3 separate regions of the Homo sapiens genome follow, and all the other regions are linked to region 3. Evidence: promoter capture Hi-C in 16 types of primary human blood cells and fetal thymus (Javierre and others, 2016). All regions are on one chromosome and are shown on one strand. The core of a region is centred on a gene start or on the middle of the fragment in contact, and the rest is flanking DNA. Distances in the headings are between cores, read along the strand shown. Region 1 overlaps PAOX (polyamine oxidase). Region 2 has its middle 8.8 kb from the start of MIR202HG. Region 3 holds the start of LINC03068 (long intergenic non-protein coding RNA 3068).

Region 1 (2,706 bases), core at 14-2,513, 940 kb before region 3:
TTTTAGAGATGCAGTAAACTTAGCGATGAGAATCAGCTGGGAGCACCGTCTGAGAAGGGCAAAAGGGGCTCCACCTGCCATTTTGGTTTTATTTTCTTTTGTTAGCACTGCAGAATTCTCTGACTTTTTAAGCTGTGTGTGTATAATTCTCACAAAAACAGTACATTTAAAAATTATTCTTAGTTTCAAAAAGAAAATGGCTTCCGAGTCTGGGATCCCAGCCCACCCGCCACTGGCTGGTGCTCCTGCAGCGCCCAGACTCGGCGGGGGCCTCTGCAGCGGGACCCACGCCCCCCGACTGGGGCACGCCACATACCTGGGCGCCGGCGCCGTCTGCAGGGAGGGGCTGAGCCAGCAGGTCCAGGTCGCCCCCAGTACTGCCCACGGCCACGTAGCTGTAGGACCCCCTAGTGTACGGGGCGCTGTGCCAGCGAGACCGCAGGACGCTCTTGGGCGCGGGGAGCCGTGGGTTTCCTGAGCCACAGAGACACTGCATGTTAACCGAGAACTCTCACCCACAGGTCTGCAACTGTTTTTGTCATTTTTAAAGATTGAGCAGTTTAACGTGAAAGATGCTATGCAGGAAGAAAAGTGAGCAGCAGAGTGTGTCAGGAGAGGCTCTTCCTGCCGCCTCTGACCCGAGAGCAGTGGGCTGGGACCCGGGGGCCTCTGACCCGACAGCAGCGGGCCGGGACCCGGGAGCTGTGACAGCAGCAGCTACTGTTTCCGAGCCTTGGGTTCCTCCTCTGTAAAAATCTGATCAAGGACAACGGCATTTATTTTGGTGGCAGAAGTAGGAAGTGTTTGCAAAGTCATTTCAGTTCCTCGGAGGTAAGAACTGTTACTGACCCCACTAACATGAGGAAGGATGGTCCCTGGAGATGTACAGAGTCAGCCAAATTTAGTTTTTCTCTGTTCTGCAAAGTCTAGTTTCTGTTTAGAGATCAACCAGTAACGAGCAGAGGCAGGAACCAGCGTGTGTGGTGAGTACCTACCTGTCACTCTCCGGAGCACTTGGGTGAGACACAGAAGTACTTCTTCATCCGACAGAGTCTCCATGAACTCAGACTCAAGTCCGGCAATGAACCCACAGAGAACGTGGACAGACCTGCATGGAGAAAGAGAGCCCTGGGATGACCAGACCTGCATGGAGAAAGAGAGCCCTGGGATGACCAGACCTGCATGGAGAAAGAGAGCCCTGGGATGACCAGACCTGCATGGAGAAAGAGAGCCCCGGGATGACAGTGTCCAGCCCAGCTCTCCGCCCGCGTTTCTCAGCAAGGAACCACTGATGGAGCAGGGGCCCCAGAGGCACAAAGAGCCACCCCACAGAGCGTCCCTCAGGCAGCAGTTCGCAGAGTGTGGGCGGCAAAGTCCTGGGGGTCCGAAGGCCCTGCCAGGGACCCTCAAGGTCACAGCCATCTTCAGACGCTAAGACAGCATTTGCTGTTTCCACCACGCCGACATTTGCACCTGAGCAAGAGCCAGGGCAGGTAAACCGTCCCTTAGCAGAATCAGGCAGCAACAGGATCCACATGCGCCTACAGGCGTTCCCACCACTGCACATGAGGGTTACAAAATGCTGCTTTTTGCAGCCGTCAAAGAACGAGATCATGTCCTTTGCAGGGACATGGATGGAGCTGGAGGCCATTATCCTTAGCAAACTAACACAGGAACAGAAAAGCAGACAGCACATGTTTTCCCTTTCAAGTGGGAGCTAAATGATGAGAACACACACTGGGGCCTATGGGAGAGTGGAGGATGGGAGGAGGGAGAGGAGCAGGAAAAATAACTAATGGGTACTAGGTTTAATTCCTGGGTGATAGAACTAATCTGTACAACAAGCCCCCATGATACACGGTTAGCTACATAACAAACCTGCACGTATATCCCTGCCTCTGAATATAAAAATTAAAATATATATATTAAAAAATAAATAAAAATGCTGCTTTCACTTGAGAATGTCCTTGATCAAAGGCAGTAAAAGTTACTAATTTTATTAAATCTTGATCCTCGAGTTCATGTCTTTTTAATAATCTGCGTGGAGGGCCAGGCACAGTGGCTCAGGCCTGTAATCCCAGCACTTTGGGAGGCCAAGGCGGGCGGATCACGAGGTCAGGAGTTCGAGACCAGCCTGGTCAATATGGTAAAGCCCTGTCTAATAAAAATACAAAAATTAGCCAGGCGTGGTGGCGGGCACCTGTAGTCCCAGCTACTCGGCAGGTTGAGGCAGGAGAATGGCATGAACCCGGGAGGTGGAGGTTGCGGTGAGCCAAGATCGCGCCACTGCTCTCCAGCCTGGGCGACAGAGTAAGACTCCATCTCAAAAAATAATAATAATCTGCGTGGAGAAGCGGGATCCGCATAGAACACTCCTGCTGCGCGTGGTGCACGGTGGCCGTGGAGGACTCACCTAGCACACGCTATTCCAGGCGGGGCTGGTGCGTCTTTCACAGACAGGCTCAGAACTCAGGAGAGCACCAGTCAGACAAATCATGGTGTGGTATTTGGTGACATTTTCTTGAAAATGAGCAAAGTGTCTCTATCACAGGAAAACAACTAACAAATAGTATTTATAGACAATGACAAAGTTTAAGCTCTCAAGCAAAAACTGCAATTTTAGAAAAGCTTGTTTCTGCCACCAACAGCATAACAGCTTCCCAATCCTGAAAGACTTTTCTGAGATCAGTGGTATGTTAATAAATT
Region 2 (2,700 bases), core at 136-2,635, 810 kb before region 3:
GGGAGGCACCACAACCCCTGTGCAGGGTACCCCAACCGGGGAGAAGCCACCAGGCCACGCTGGAGTGGGAGCCAGGACCTCAGCGCCAGGTCCCCACCGCGTCTGCCGTGCCCACCCCTAGAGGGTGCTGAATCCTGGCCCCTCCCAGCTCTGGGTGTGTGGTGGGGAGGAGCTGCTTCTCTCCGTCCTCACCCGGCCTTGCCCTCGGCCAGCAAAGACCGCAGAGGAGAGTGAGACCCTTGGGAGCTCCCTGGGCTCAGGGGTTCTGAGTGCCTGTGCTGGGACCTTGGACGGCCAAGACACCGCTTGACTTCCACCTTCTGTCCTCTGGCGCCCGCCTGCACCTGGTCCTCTGCCTGCCCACGCGGCCAGCTAGAAAGCGCGCGCCCTCCAGTGGGAAGGAGAGCAAGGAGTAAAACGTCCCGCCAGGGAGTGGGGAGTGTCAGGAAATTAGGAGGAAGTGTCGGGGCTGCGGCTTGCCGGGATGTAGGAGCACAGGCCCTGGGGCAGAGGAGGGGCGGGGGGAGCCGTGAGAGGCCCGGAGGGAGCAGGGGAGGTGGAGAGGAGCTTTCCCCAGTGGAGCTGGCAGGAAGAGTCCCAGGTGCAAGGAGCGCATTTTAGAATTCCAGGACTCGGGAGGAAACCTGCAGGATGAGGGCTCCCCTTGGGGGCGGCCTGCATTTCTCAGCGGGAAGGTGGGTGTGGGTGCCCCTCACATCACCTGGCGTTTATTTTTGCATGTGTGAAATATAACAACAATTTCCTAGGGGAAAACACCCTAGGGTGCACAAAAGTTGTAAAAATGGGAACATATGGTCCGAAACTCACTGCTGAATAATGTGCTGTCATGAAATTTACTTCAAAAACCCCCTCACGGAGTACAATCTTGGGTAGATGAAGGAGAAAAAAAGTAAAAATGAATTTAAAAATCTCTTAAAGCTTCTGTTTTTTGTTTTTTATTTTTGAGACAGATCTGGCTCTGCTGCCCAGGCCGGAGAACAGCTCACTGCAGCTGGAGCCGTTCTCCCACCTCAGCCTCCGGCACGTGCCACCACGCCCAGCTAATTCTTTTCTTTTCCTTTTTTTTTTTTTTTTTTTTTGAGACAGGGGTCTCACTCTGTTGCCCAGACTAGAGTGTAGTGGCACAATCTCAGCTCACTGCAACCTCCACCTCCTGGGTTGAAACGATTCTCCTGCCTCAGCCTCCCAAGTAGCTGAGATTACAGGCGCCCGCCACCACGCCCGGCTAATTTTTGTATTTTAGTAGAGACGGGGTTTCACCATATTGGCCAGGCTGCTCTCAAACTCCTGACCTCAGGTGATCCGCCCGCCTCTACCTCCCAAACTGTTGGGATTACAGGCGTCAGCCACTGCGCCTTGCGTAATTCTTTTCATTTTTTGTAGCAATGGGGGTCTCACTGTGTTGCCCAGGCTGGTCTTGAACTCCTGGGCTCAAGTGATCCTCCTGCCTCTGCTTCCCACAGTGCTGGGATTACAGGTGTGAGCCACTGCGCCTGGCCAGCTTCTTTAGATCAAGCTGTAAATAACTTCAAATAGTAAATTAGTAGAGCAGACACGACTGACTAAAATTATTAGCAATGAAAGCACAAAGGAGTAAGCAGGGGAGGCCACCCTGAGCACGTCTGGACGGCTCGCGTGGGGAGTCCACGCTCAGAGCACCCCACAGGTGTGCAGGAACCGGCATGATCCACAGTGATCGCCTTTGGTGGCAAAACTTATTTCTTTTCTGCAGTACTCACAATTCTCCATCATAACAATGTGTCGTTTTACAAGCAGGAATAAATGAAAACAATGGCTGTTCAAAGCTTGCTGGAGAGAGGCGGCGGCAAAGCTCTGCTGCTCCCCGTGTTTCTGGAATCTGTTGACAATTGTATCTGCGCTTCTCACAGATTCTGAGAAGGACACGTATGTTTAACAAATATATATAACTTCCTCAGAGAGCCACTGAAGGCCAGGTGCGGTGGCTCATGCCTGTAAACCCAGCACTTTGAGAGGCCGAGGTGGGCGGATCACCTGAGCTCAGGAGTTCACGACCAGCCTGGGCAACACAGCCAAATCCCGTCTCTACAAAAAATACAAAACTTGGCCCGGCATGGTGCCCGTAGTCCCCTCTACTTGGGAGGCTGAGGTGGGAGGATCGCTTGGGCCTGGGAGGTGGAGGCTGCAGTGAGTCGAGATTGCACCCCTGTACTCCAGCCTGGGCCACAGAGTGAGACCCTGAAATAAAGAAAAGCTGTGGACGTGGCTGAATCGTGTGCACCGCTGACCCCCAGCATGTGGGCCTCACCCACCATCCACGCGACGCCCTCGCCAGGAAAAACAGAGCCATGTGACCGGGGAGGGTTGATGGGGGTGTCCAGAGGCCAGAGTGCCCTGGCAGGGTGGCCCCCACCCCATCTGTCCCTGGAGGTCTTTGTCTCCTTCTGTGCTGAACTCCACCCTCCAACAGCTCCCCGTGGCTGCCCAAGCAGGGGTGGCGGGGTGTCAAGGAGGGTGGGCGGCGGGACCGCGGGGCAGAGGGGCTGTGCATCCTGGGTAATCCCACCCTCGCCCTGGGTGGCCACCAAGCGGTGCCGGCAGCTGGACCTGGGTGCGGAGTGTGGAGCCGAGTTCACCTGCCTTTTTGTGGCTCCCAGAGGAACACGCAGAGACCCAACTGAGGCCAGCCTAACTGGGGCT
Region 3 (2,700 bases), core at 197-2,696:
GGCCCCACCACGGGGCTCCTCTGCCCAGACGTCCCAGGTCCAGAGTGGAGGCTCAGCCTTGGGCCTCAGTCCGCTCCCGGCCCGGATGTGAGGGTGGGTCGCAGCTGCACGGCCTCGCTGCCCACCAGGCCTGCGGAAGGGAGGACACGCCCTCCCACAGACCCTGTGATGGCGGCTGCCATGGAAGGTGTCTAGGCCCTTTTGGGCATCCCCTGCCCCCGTCTAGGTCCCCAGGTACTTGCAGAAAAGAAGGGGTGAGCACAGCCTTCTGTAAGGGGGCGCCCGAGTCCTGGCCAAGGTGGCCGCCCACCCTGGGGCTCCACAGTCCAGGCAGCCACCTCTTCAGTCTCTCCCCTTAATGTGGGGCAGAGTGGATAGAGGGACTCCCTCCTCTGACCAGCCAGGCAGGCAGGGAAACCCGGGCACGGGAGCCCAGGGCTGGTGGCCATGCCCTGAGGGAACTGGCTGCACTTGCAGCCCAGGCCACAGGCCCCAGGACACCCCAGACCTCTTGGCAGGACCCCAGGGTTAAAAGGCAGTTTGTGGCGCCACTTCTCCCCTGATGATGGACACCTTGAAGGGGCTCTGGGCACCAGCGGAACAAACGTCATAGGGAAACTCAGCAGCTGACCTACCACCAGGACCCACCTGTCCTCTGCCCTCCCAGAATCCTGGTCATGCGTCCAGCAAGCTCCCAGGGAGGACACGCCAGGCACTGGGCCCATGGACACGCTGTAGAGAAACGCCGCAATCGTTAGGGGCATGTGACTAAGACGCCTCCTTCCCATAGGCACCCACGGGGTGCGGCTCTTTCCAAAACGCCACATTAAAACAGCTGCAGGAGGACCGAAGGGGCCTCGTGCCCATCCCCTGCTGCTACTCCCCAGCCCGCCCTCAGCCTCCTGCCGCTGGAGCTCTGCCCACCTGCACACCCCACTCTTCTTCATCCCCAGCCCCATAAGCGAGACTACCTTGAGGCCAGTAGGTGCTTCCTGAGAGTTTAGGAATAACAGGGGAACTACAGCAAATAGCAACAATTTTAAAAGCAAACAAGGCATCAGCCCTTGCCATCCTCAAGCCGTGACCACCCCTGCCCAGGACGGAGCTCCAGCGGCTGCACACTTCCCCCAGGGCTCGCCCTGCAGCTACCTCTCAGCTCCTGGGAGGAAACTCCACATTTCAGCTGCTTTATACCCAGAGAAGCCTCCTGCCTCCCTTCCCAGTCCTGGCAGATCCTGGGCCTCTCCTGCCTGCCTGGCCTCTTGGAAATAACTGGCTGAGCCTCTCTGTGTGTCTGGCACAGCATGGGGCCCAGAGGCCAGAGCCACCGGAGGTACCCTGCAGAGAGGGTAGGGTTGCAAAATCCTCCCCCCCACCCCCACAACTGCAGAACACACCCTGGGCCCAGCTGGGCTCTAGAGGTGCCCAGGAGAGGGAACTGAATTATTTCAGGAATTGGAGATGCCCCTGTGGCTGAGGAGGAGCTGGGGCTGGGGCCGGGGCCAGGGCCGGGGCTCTGACCTGCCACTCTGCCCCACATTAAGGGCAGAGACCGAAGAGGTGGCTGCCTGGACCTTGGAGCCCCAGGGTGGGCGGCCACCTTGGCCAGGACTCGGGCGCCCCCTTACAGAAGGCTGTGCTCACCCCTTCTTTTCTGCAAGTACCTGGGGACCTAGACGGGGGCAGGGGGCCTGGGGGTCTGGGCCTGGGGGCCAGACCCTCCATCATTTCCTAGGCTGGTGCTCAGAAATGGAGGAATCTCAGGACAGGTCCCTGTGGTCTACGGGGTGGCAGGCCTGAGGCTGGCCCTCTCTGCAGAGGACACCTTGGGGGCTGCTGATCAGCCTTGAGGCCAGAGATGGCTCTCACCTGCTTCCCCGTCACAGGACCAGCACTGTCAGCCTCACCTGGAGGCTTTCTGCAGGGCTGGTTCTCTTGTCCCATCAGTGTCTGTGTGGGGTCACCCTGTTCCCCTAGGAGGGTGGGTCTGCAGGGGGGAAGCCAGAGTGGCCCTTGGAGACCTCAGGACCCCAGAGGGAATGAGCAGGGAGCCTTGAGGGTCTGGAGGAGGAATTCAGAGAGGCAGGAAGCCGGGGAGCCCTGAGGAGAGGCGAGAGGGAGTGAGCGAGCGGGGGAGGGAGTGAGGGGGGAGGGAGCCCTGAGGAAGGGGAGGGGAGTGAGCGGGGAGGGAGTGAGGAGGGAGGGAGCCCTGAGGAGAGGGGAGGAGAGTGAGTGGGAGTGAGGGGGGGAGCCCTGAGGAGAGGGGAGGAGGAGTGGGGGGGTGGGGAGCCCTGAGGAAGGGGAGGGGAGTGAGCAGGGAGGGAGTGAGGCGGGGAGCCCTGAGGAAGGGGAGAGGGAGTGAGTGGGGAGGGAGTGAGGGGAGGGAGCCCTGAGGAAGGGGAGTGGGGGGAGGGGAAGGGTGAGGCAGGAAGCCAGGGAGCCCTGAGGAGAGGGGAGAGGAGTGAGGGGGAGGGGAAGGTGTGAGGGGAGTGGGGGTTGAGAGGAGAGGGAAGGAAGGGAAGGGGGAGGGGAGGGCGATGGGGGAGCCCCCACAGACACCCCAGCTGCTGGCTGGGCGCTGGGCACCCCCCAACCGTTGGGCCTTGCTCCCACTAGGGGCAGTCGTGTCCCAGCCCCACAGTCAGGTCTGAGTCAGGGACCCGTGGCGCCCGCCCTCCCTCAGCTGAGCTCACCAACAGC

The links. The method cuts DNA at HindIII sites, captures the fragments that hold promoters and counts their contacts. A CHiCAGO score of 5 or more calls a contact.
Region 1: a fragment that was not itself captured here is called in contact with the fragment with the promoter of LINC03068 in region 3 in 1 of 17 cell types (naive CD8 T cells); the score reaches 6.4 in naive CD8 T cells.
Region 2: a fragment that was not itself captured here is called in contact with the fragment with the promoter of LINC03068 in region 3 in 1 of 17 cell types (neutrophils); the score reaches 7.0 in neutrophils.

Annotation. Positions count from the first base shown.
Region 1 is chr10:133,387,358-133,390,063 of GRCh38, reverse strand. It overlaps PAOX (polyamine oxidase), which reads right to left. Exons shown (of 7, transcript NM_152911.4): 5 at 996-1,108; 6 at 317-474. Among named protein-coding and RNA genes, the nearest start is that of MTG1, 5.4 kb to the left of the region's middle. RefSeq lists silencers at 176-255, 845-1,139, 1,396-1,553 and an enhancer at 1,306-1,435. The HindIII fragment of the contact is 2,734 bases long and covers 1-2,630 here.
Region 2 is chr10:133,255,380-133,258,079 of GRCh38, reverse strand. No RefSeq gene overlaps it. Among named protein-coding and RNA genes, the nearest start is that of MIR202HG, 8.8 kb to the right of the region's middle. RefSeq lists an enhancer at 1-42. The HindIII fragment of the contact is 887 bases long and covers 942-1,828 here.
Region 3 is chr10:132,443,728-132,446,427 of GRCh38, reverse strand. LINC03068 (long intergenic non-protein coding RNA 3068) reads left to right here and starts at 1,446. Exons shown (of 3, transcript NR_184030.1): 1 at 1,446-1,656. LINC02870 (long intergenic non-protein coding RNA 2870) reads right to left here and starts at 1,239. Exons shown (of 3, transcript NR_149317.1): 1 at 1,150-1,239; 2 at 649-732. RefSeq lists silencers at 2,500-2,549, 2,650-2,699. The HindIII fragment of the contact is 13,459 bases long and covers 1-2,700 here.